2 separate regions of the Homo sapiens genome follow, and region 2 is linked to region 1. Evidence: promoter capture Hi-C in 16 types of primary human blood cells and fetal thymus (Javierre and others, 2016). All regions are on one chromosome and are shown on one strand. Each heading gives the region's core, a stretch centred on a gene start or on the middle of the fragment in contact. The rest is flanking DNA. Distances are from core to core; before and after follow the strand shown. Region 1 holds the start of ADRB2 (adrenoceptor beta 2). Region 2 overlaps SH3TC2 (SH3 domain and tetratricopeptide repeats 2).

The links. The method cuts DNA at HindIII sites, captures the fragments that hold promoters and counts their contacts. A CHiCAGO score of 5 or more calls a contact.
Region 2: a fragment that was not itself captured here is called in contact with the fragment with the promoter of ADRB2 in region 1 in 4 of 17 cell types (endothelial precursors, megakaryocytes, naive CD8 T cells and 1 more); the score reaches 7.7 in endothelial precursors.

The regions. Positions count from the first base shown.
Region 1 is chr5:148,822,715-148,828,920 of GRCh38, reverse strand. It overlaps ADRB2 (adrenoceptor beta 2), which reads right to left and starts at 2,310. Exons shown (of 1, transcript NM_000024.6): 1 at 298-2,310. The coding sequence starts at 2,089. The coding sequence ends at 848. RefSeq lists enhancers at 1,410-1,995, 2,852-3,011 and silencers at 2,042-2,181, 2,272-2,581. The HindIII fragment of the contact is 9,818 bases long and covers 1-6,206 here.
Region 2 is chr5:149,027,124-149,031,131 of GRCh38, reverse strand. SH3TC2 (SH3 domain and tetratricopeptide repeats 2) reads left to right here. Exons shown (of 17, transcript NM_024577.4): 10 at 2,414-2,455; 11 at 2,578-4,008. Among named protein-coding and RNA genes, the nearest start is that of MIR584, 33 kb to the left of the region's middle. RefSeq lists an enhancer at 1-11. The HindIII fragment of the contact is 8,506 bases long and covers 1-4,008 here.

The DNA.
Region 1 (6,206 bases), core at 1,061-3,560:
CTCCGCTTCTGTGAGTCAGTGTTTCTGAGGTAACAACACAGAACAATAACCATAGGGAGAGTTGAGCTATACTAAGAGCAGGCAGAACTGATTTGGGGCACAAGTGTCAGGAGAGATGCAGCTTTGCAGCAGCAGACTCAAAGGCAAATGAAAGGGTTAAGCAATCTGTGCATGTCATTCTTGTATCATTCTACATTAAGTCATGGGCAGTAATTACAAGTAGTTACCTGCGGTTTCCAGTGGGGGAGGCAACAGCACTCCAGTCAAGGGGTTTTGGAGAAACAGGTGCAATGAAGGCATGGTCAAACAATTTATTTACTGTAAACTTTAGACTTTGCTCGGGAAAACAACTGAAGCTGCTCCTCAAATCCCTGCCTAAAATACCCCGTGTGAGCAAATAAGAGGAGTGGGGGAAGAGTCCATGTTCACAGCTGAAAGGTCCGAGATACTCAAAATCCTCAAGTCCAAGGGTGTAGGAAGGAAAATCTCCTTCAGATACAAATTACCAGCAGCAATATATTACCCCTAATACTTGAATAGTGAGGTAGATACATGGAAAAGTCATGAAAATATAGCAGACTCAGGTCCTCTAGGACTAAAGCTCTTTAGACATAAACTTACAAATTCCATGCAAAGAGGAACTGAACTGTACAAATAACAAATAATCACTCAAATAAGTTTTCTCTCTTTTTACAGCTTAAAAAAATAAAAAAGGCAGAAGGATGCCCTTCCTTCTGCATATCTCTATACAATTTTACAATTTTATTCTAAGTTTATTACCCTCAAGTTAAATAGTCTGTTTAGTGTTCTGTTGGGGGGGGGGGTCTTTAAAAGTAGAAAAACTGCTTTACAGCAGTGAGTCATTTGTACTACAATTCCTCCCTTGTGAATCAATGTTATCGCTAGGCACAGTACCTTGATGGCCCACAAAGTCTTCCGTGCCTGGGAGGTCTTCACACAGCAGTTTATTTTCTTTCTCCTGTTCCACGTGATATCCACTCTGCTCCCCTGTGTTGCCGTTGCTGGAGTAGCCATTCCCATAGGCCTTCAAAGAAGACCTGCGCAGGCACAGAAGCTCCTGGAAGGCAATCCTGAAATCTGGGCTCCGGCAGTAGATAAGGGGATTGAAACCAGAATTGACATAGCCTATCCAATTTAGGAGGATGTAAACTTCCTTACGGATGAGGTTATCCTGGATCACATGCACAATGTTAACGATGAAGAAGGGCAGCCAGCAGAGGGTGAAAGTGCCCATGATGATGCCTAACGTCTTGAGGGCTTTGTGCTCCTTCAAGCAGAACTTGGAAGATCTGCGGAGTCCATGCCCCGTCCGCCCATCCTGCTCCACCTGGCTAAGGTTCTGGACATGGAAGCGGCCCTCAGATTTGTCAATCTTCTGGAGCTGCCTTTTGGCCTCCTGAAAGACCCTGGAGTAGACGAAGACCATGATCACCAGGGGAACGTAGAAGGACACGATGGAAGAGGCAATGGCATAGGCTTGGTTCGTGAAGAAGTCACAGCAGGTCTCATTGGCATAGCAGTTGATGGCTTCCTGGTGGGTGGCCCGGTACCAGTGCATCTGAATGGGCAAGAAGGAGGTAAGGCCTGACACAATCCACACCATCAGAATGATCACCCGGGCCTTATTCTTGGTCAGCAGGCTCTGGTACTTGAAAGGTGAAGTAATGGCAAAGTAGCGATCCACTGCGATCACGCACAGGGTCTCAATGCTGGCCGTGACGCACAGCACATCAATGGAAGTCCAAAACTCGCACCAGAAGTTGCCAAAAGTCCACATTTTCATAAGAATATGGGCGGCCCCAAAGGGCACCACTGCCAGGCCCATGACCAGATCAGCACAGGCCAGTGAAGTGATGAAGTAGTTGGTGACCGTCTGCAGACGCTCGAACTTGGCAATGGCTGTGATGACCAGCACATTGCCAAACACGATGGCCAGGACGATGAGAGACATGACGATGCCCATGCCCACCACCCACACCTCGTCCCTTTCCTGCGTGACGTCGTGGTCCGGCGCATGGCTTCCATTGGGTGCCAGCAAGAAGGCGCTGCCGTTCCCGGGTTGCCCCATGGCGCGCAGTCTGGCAGGTGAGCGCACTGGCTGGGGGCGCCTCAGCGGGCGGACCCACGGCGGGGCTCTGCGGGCCGCGAGCGGACGCCTGGAAGCCTCATTCAGCGGCTGTGGTGTGGGTGTGGTGGGGACTCGTCCTGCACACTCAGCTTGTCGGGTGCTAGGGGCTCGCGGTGCCTGCCAGTTCCAGCCCGTGCTCTGAAGAAGCCGCTTCGCAGTGCGTTCTGCCCGTTATGTGCACAGGACTTTAGGGGAACTGCCCTCGCCGTGACGTACGGGAACTTTCGGCCAATGGCACGCCGGCAGCCGCGAAGGGGCGAGGCACTCCTCCCCTTTCCCTCCCCTCCCCTCGCCCTCCTTCTCCTGGGGCTGGCCCGGGCGGGGCCCAACTGCTCCCTGGAGGGCGGGCCACCACTGCTTCCCGGCTACCCTGGCTGGCCCCAGAGGGCTAAAGCTGGAGGTGGTGTCCTTACCAGCCAACCCGGGAGCTTTTGGCTCTTCTGTGGCCGCTACCTGCCTGCCCTGGGCGCCTGCGCGGCTTGAGGTCTCAAGGCAGAGGGCAGCACACCGGCACTGCCCCACATTCGGAAGGAAACGAGAGTGCCCACCGAGGCACGCACATACAGGCACAAATACACCCTGGCAGACATGCTCAGACTTATACCGAACCACAGCCATAGACACTGAGACACACCCTCCCAGCTCACCGACATGCACACTCGCGCGCGCTCTCACACAGAAGCCATCCGGCACAAAGTCACCCCTGTCCAACACAGAAACGCGGCCAGAAACAAACACAGAAGCACCCAGAAGCACAAAGACATGGTGACACACACAGAAAGTAAACACACGCTGGCTTGGAGGCATCCAGAGCGACACAGACACGGATGTCTCCATCTGGGTACTCCGAACTTGCCTCACCCGAGCACTGATAATGCTCCCCTCCCAACATACACCCGGTAACCCAGTGTATTCCCTTTCAAACATTTGGCAAGAGCACAGGAGGTGACTTCAACAGCTGCTGATTTCCTCAGCACACTCGCTGTCAAGTACTTTAGGTGCCCTCCTTAGGAATTTGCAGGCATGAAGACAGTTTTACCCTTTGGATTTTATCTGGAGCGGGGGTATGCAAGTATGTATTTTGGGACAGAGAGAGAAAGTTGTGTGCTTTTGTTTTAATTTTTTTGTTGTTTTGTTTTTAACTCTTGAGAGTGTGGCATCACTCACTCATTATCTGTTGAACTGGAGATGCAATGAGAATTCAAACAATTTCTTCAGTAAACCCAATGAAACTAAAAAAAATCCTTTCATCTGCTGGATAGTTTGTTAATCTTTCGGGTTGTGCCATGTGAAATTGCCACCATCTGGCGTCTGTGACTTACCAAAATGGCAAATTCATATGGTTCAGAGTATTAAGAATGTCTTAACATTAAGAACATTTTGAAGCTATAGAAAGCAAAAGATCCTGGCCAATATGGTGTAACTCTTGTCTCTACTAAAAATACAAAAATTAGCCAGGTGTGGTGGCACGTACCTGTAGTCCCAGCTACTCGGGAGGCTGAGACAGGAGAATCTCTTGAACCCGGGAGGTGAAGGTTGCAGTGAGCCGAGATCACGTCACTGCGCTCCAGCCTGGGTGACAGAACAAGACTCCATCTCAAAACAAAACAAAACAAAAAACACAAGATAATTCTCCCTTAAGAAAAAGAAAAAAGTAAGACCAAATCTCAAAAGTAAGATCTTTGTTCATGAAATACTATCCTTTCCATCTGGCATGTGACTTTACTGCTAAAGTGAAATTAATTTTCAGGGTTTGATTTCCCATGTATTAGTGGTGTCTTTGAAAAACTGAAAGTATTTCATGAAGTGTAACTAAACGTACTTTGTAGATTACATAATAACATAACAATGGTTAACATTTATGGACCATTCTGCTATTTGCTTTTCATGCATTATTCTATTTAATCCTTCCCACAGTCCCATGGGGGTGGGGACTATTTTTAGCTTAATTCACAAATGAGGTTCAAAGAGGAAAATGGCTTGCCCAGGGGCAATGGCTGGGCAGTGCCAGAATCTGGATTTGACCCAGGTCTGCCTGAGTCCAAGACCCATCTTTTAATCTTTTCAATGTATTGCATAATTACATGCAGACAGGAGTGATGGATAGGGAGGAAGGGCTACAACTGGAACTGGAATACCCAGGTTCCAGATTCACCAAACTTGGAGCTTTCTAGTTCATTTTTTTTTTTTTTAAGAGAAATCACGAAGTACCTGATTTCCATTGTCTCTAAAGGGGCATAAAGTCACTTCCATTGGGGTAAGCAAGAATTGAATGATATAGTAAGAAATATGAAAATGCTTTTGCTCATATAAGTGTCACACAAGTGTAGTTTGTAAGCGAAGTTTACATAAATTACTTAGTGGTTTAGAATATGTTGTTAGTCTTCTCTACTAGAACAATAAAATACTTTAGGGCAAAAGTAAGTTGGGTGTTTACTCTGGAAGCAAAGCTCAGAAACAGAATTTAACCTACATATCCCCTTTAACATCCTTCATAGCAGAAACTGACTTTTTGCAAGACAGATGCCTTAGAAAACAAGTATTTCCCATAAAATCCACAAATATGAATTAAAGATCTATTATATTCACATAGTTTTCAAAATACACTCACCTCATATTTGTGTTTTCCAAAATTGGCTGTGGCATGATGCATTTTAGGAAGAGGCAGTATTTATTATGCAACAACGTTTCTTTAAATATGCATCTACTCAAATTGTGGAACTAAACCATTTAAAACCTCCTTCCTGTTTGTGAAGCTATGGCATAAATAAGCATATTGTTTAACCTTCCTATAATAAGAAAAGAACAAAGAAAACCCCTTTAAGACAAATATTAACTGATCATGTATTTAGATATACACGTAAGTCACTTAAAAGTTTAACTGAATATTTTGGGAAACTCCTTTTTTAAAACCCACAAATACTAAATCAAGAAGGACTGGCTAGCCATATGCAGAAAACTGAAACTGGACCCCTTCCTTACACCTTATACAAGAATTAACTCAAGATGAATTAAAGACTTAAACGTAAGACCTAAAACCATAAAAACCCTAGAAGAAAATCTAGGCAATAACATCCAGGACATAGGCATGGGCAAAGACTTCATGACTAAAACATCAAAAGCAATGGCAACAAAAGCCAAAATTGACAAATGGGATCTAATTAAACTAAAGAGTTTCTGCACAGCAAAATAAACTATCATCAGGGTGAACAGGCAACCTACAGAAAGGGGGAAAAATTTTGCAATCTATCCATCTGACAAAGGGCTAATATCCAGAATCTACAAAGAACTTAAACAAATTTACAAGAAAAAACAAACAGCCCCATGAAAAAGTGGGCAAAGGATATGAACAGACACTTCTCAAAAGAAGACATTAATGCAGCCAACAAACATATGAAGAAAAGATCATCAGCACTGGTTATTAGTGAAATGCAAATCAAAACCACAATGAAATACCATCTCACACCAGATACAATGGCGATCATTAACACATCAGGAAACAGACCGGGCGCAGTGGCTCATGCCTGTAATCCTAGCACTTTGGGAGGCTGAGGTGGGTGGATCACCTGAGGTCAGGACTTCGAGAGCAGCCTGACCAACATGGTGAAACTTCGTCTCTAATAAAAATACAAAAATTAGCCAGAAGTTGTGGCATGCCTGTAGTCTGACCTACTCTGGGGGCTGAAACAGGAGAATCGCTTGAACCTGGGAGGTGGAGGTTGCAGTGAGCCGAGATTGTGCCACTGCACTCCATCCGGGGTGACACAGTGAGACTCCGTCTCAAAAAAAAAACAGGAAGTCAGGAAACAACAGATGCTGGAAAGGATGTGGAGAAATAGGAACACTTTTACACTGTTGGTAGGAATGTAAATTAGTTCAAACATTGTGGAAGACAGTGTGGCAATCCCTCAAGGATCTAGAACAAGAAATACCATTTGACCCAGCAATCCCATTACCTGGTATATACCCTAAGGATTATAAATCATTCTACTATAAAGACACATGGACATGTATGTTTATTGCAGCACTGTTCACAATAGCAAAGACTTGGAACCAA
Region 2 (4,008 bases), core at 1,226-3,725, 200 kb before region 1:
CAGGCCTAAACGAATTAGTGCCTGAGCTAGGATAAGAACTGCTAGTCAGAGCAATCCACTTTACCACACTGCCCCTGACACAAAATGACTTTGAGTTGTTGGGTGTGTTAGTCTTGGATGTTTTCTGTGTCATGGGATCAGATCTCAACAATTGTGAAAGATTCCTCTGACAAACTGACTGGTTTTGAGCAGTGTCTGAAGGACTGACTGACTGAATGAATGATACTCTTACTTTGAGAAAGGCCTACTGTTGTGTGTCAGGGAGTACATTTTCTCATTGATGGTGACTTGAGGAAGAATTTTTGTTTCTCCCATCTCTTCATTGATGGTGACATTGTGTCCGCTCTTGTGTAGCCAGATTAGATGATCCATATTTTATGGATACAGCTAGAGATTCTGCTGAAGGGGCCCTCAGGCCATCTCCCAGGAGTAGAGCAGGGAGTTGAGAGCTATGTCCGTGCATAAAGAGTGTTTGTGAAAGCACATGCCTCAGGCATAAGCACCCTGCCCTAGCAGAGCTTTCTTGCCACAAGCCACAAGCAGATCATATTGCCTTATGAGGTTGAGCAGGAAGCTAGAGTTGTAAACACTGCCCAGTAGGCGGGAGCCTGATGTCTGAAAATTGAGGTGTACTAGCAGTGTTCCTTGGGGAGAAGGCCTGGGCACAGACTTGGATCATGATTTCTGCCAGCTGTTGGTCCAGTGGTGGGGAGGATGTAAGAGGAGGCCCCAGACAGCACTTGACTCTCACTCAAAGATCAGGAGTGCAGCTCTGCGGCGTGCAGTCCGCACCTTATGGTTGTGCAGGCTGCCCCAGCACCAAGACAAGCAGCAGGAGAACATCTTGTTGGTAAATTGCAGCTTCCCCAAGGCGTATACCATAGGGAAGGATGGCCCTTTGTAATTCTTCCTCCTAGAGAGGGGACACCATTTTGTAACTTGCGCATCACTCATACTCTTGGCCAGAAGAGAAGAGGTGGCCCAAGAGGGGCGTGTACCCCTCCACATCAGAGAGGCCAGGGCATTTGAACAGCTCTCCTTAGCCAAGCTCTATAGCTCTTCATCTTTAGCTGCGGGGCTTTCTACCCTCTGGGGGTTACAGATCTGGAGGTTCTGCAATGACAATCTCTGGAGATGCCATCCTGGAGAACAGCAGGAAAAGGTTTGACTTGGTGAGGGGCTTGCTGGTCCTCAAAGTTCACTAGAGAACTCAGGGTGGTGGCACAGACAGTTGTTACTTCTCTGCTAAGAAGAGGTAGAATCTTCCCTCTAGCAGCTACCATCCTGTGGAGTGTGAAGCTAGCCTTCACCTCCACAGTTCCACTGTGGTTGCTTTAGCCAACAGTGGTCACTTCTTCACTGCCAAACCCAAGGTGTCTTCTTGGTTCTTACCTAGTCCGGTTGCACTTGGTGGCAATAGGTGGTTATGTTTTAAGTCACCTTGGCCTCTGTAACCCCCTTTTCTCTCTGACTGTGCCTTTTCAGTCTCCCTCACTGGCTACTGGCTGCCAGTGAGTTGCCCAGGCTTATTAACAAACTCCCCCTACTCCCTCACTCCCTCACTCCCCTGCTGCTTTTCTTTTCCCCCAGATGCCTCACCTGTGTGATTACATTTAGTCCTGGGACTCTGGCCAGCAATTTGTGACCTGCTTTGGGTCACAAACCTGTGTTTGCAAAGTCTCAGTTTTTCTCCTTGGCTCCAGACCTACATCATTATCTGCCTAGAGCTCCTGCAGCTACCTCAAACCCCAAAGGTCTAAAACTGCACTCCAGATTCTCCCATCCTCTACTTCAGTCTCAGATGCATCCTTGCTCCTTTTTATTCGCCCTTCACTTCTGGCCCCTCGCCCCTGCCACTTTTACAAACACAGTGTCCAGCCCAGTGGACACATGGAACCAATGTCTGCCAAGTGGATGAATCATGAATGAATGGAGGAGGCAAGAAGGAAGGATGTGATACATTTAGAAGTGGGAGGCAGCACCATGTGCTCCCACGTGTTCTGTGCTGGGAGTTGTGTCCTGGCTCCATCGTGAACTCGCTGAGAGATTTGGGAGCTGCATCTCTCTGATCTTCAGATTCTATCAGGACCCCCACTGTCCCCACCCCCCACCCCCCTACAGTACCCATACCTCTTGACATAGAGCCTGTGTTTCCAGGTTTTCTTCTCGGACTCTGAGTTTCACGTATACCTTGGTTCCCAACTGTAAAGTGCATGGGTTAAACAAGATGATTAGGCCCCTACAGCTCTTAAGATGATGGGTGAAAGGATAATTCTGCCCTGTTCCTTAATGATGACTGAAGGTCTTGAATGCCAAGGCTCCTAAGAGGCCACTGATCTGGGGTACACCTGGAGGCATGGGCATGGTGGCCCATCCTGACCTAACACCAGACCTGTTCTTCATCTCTACTTAGGTGGGTTTGAATCCATCCAGAATCCTCCAAATGATCTGAGTGGTGAGTAGCGATCATGCTGAACCTGACATTCATCCTTGAGGACAGCACTTCTGTCCTCTTGCCAAGAGCGGCCACCTTAGGTGCAGGTGCCCAAGGTTGCTCAACTTTGCCTGTCCTTACAGCATCCCAGCCTGAAGGTTTCAAGGAGGTCAGGCCTGGCAGAGCCTGGGAGGAGCATCAGGCCGTGGGGTCCAGACAGTCCAGCAGCTCTGAGGACTCCAGCCTGGAGGAGGAGCTCCTCTCGGCCACCTCAGACAGCTATCGCCTGCCGGAGCCTGATGACCTTGATGACCCGGAACTGCTCATGGACCTAAGCACTGGTCAGGAGGAGGAGGCTGAGAACTTCGCCCCCATATTGGCTTTTCTGGATCATGAGGGTTATGCTGACCACTTTAAGAGTCTCTATGACTTCTCCTTCTCTTTCCTCACTTCTTCCTTTTATAGCTTCTCTGAGGAGGATGAGTTTGTGGCCTACCTGGAGGCATCAAGAAAGTGGGCCAAGAAGAGCCACATGACCTGGGCCCATGCCCGTCTCTGCTTCCTCCTGGGCCGGCTGAGCATCAGGAAGGTCAAACTCTCTCAGGCCAGGGTGTACTTCGAGGAGGCCATCCACATTCTCAATGGAGCATTTGAGGACCTATCCTTGGTGGCCACTCTGTACATCAATTTGGCTGCCATCTACCTGAAACAGAGGCTGAGACATAAAGGCTCCGCCCTGTTGGAAAAGGCAGGTGCCCTGCTGGCCTGCCTGCCTGACCGTGAGTCTAGTGCCAAGCATGAACTCGACGTGGTGGCCTACGTGCTGCGCCAGGGGATTGTGGTGGGCAGCAGCCCGCTGGAGGCCAGGGCCTGCTTTCTGGCCATCCGCTTGCTCCTGAGCCTAGGCCGGCACGAGGAGGTCCTGCCCTTTGCCGAGCGCCTGCAGCTCCTCTCTGGACACCCTCCTGCCTCTGAGGCTGTGGCCAGTGTTTTGAGTTTTCTGTATGACAAGAAATATCTTCCACACCTTGCAGTGGCCTCTGTCCAGCAACATGGTATCCAGAGTGCCCAAGGGATGTCTCTTCCTATTTGGCAGGTCCACCTTGTCCTCCAGAACACAACCAAGCTCCTTGGCTTTCCTTCCCCAGGCTGGGGTGAAGTTTCTGCCTTGGCCTGCCCAATGCTCAGACAGGCCCTGGCTGCCTGTGAGGAACTAGCAGACCGGAGCACCCAGAGGGCCCTGTGTCTCATCCTTTCCAAAGTGTACCTCGAGCACAGGTCTCCTGACGGTGCCATCCACTACCTGAGCCAGGCCTTGGTGCTAGGGCAGCTGCTGGGTGAGCAGGAATCCTTTGAGTCTTCTCTCTGCCTGGCATGGGCCTATCTCTTAGCCAGCCAGGCCAAGAAGGCTTTGGATGTGCTTGAGCCACTGCTATGCTCCCTGAAGGAGACAGAGAGTCTCACTCAAAGGGGAGTCATCTATAACCTCCTGGGACTTGCACTCCAAGGTGAAGGCCGGGTGAACAGGGCAGCCAAGAGCTATCTTCGGGCCTTGAACAGAGCCCAGGAGGTGG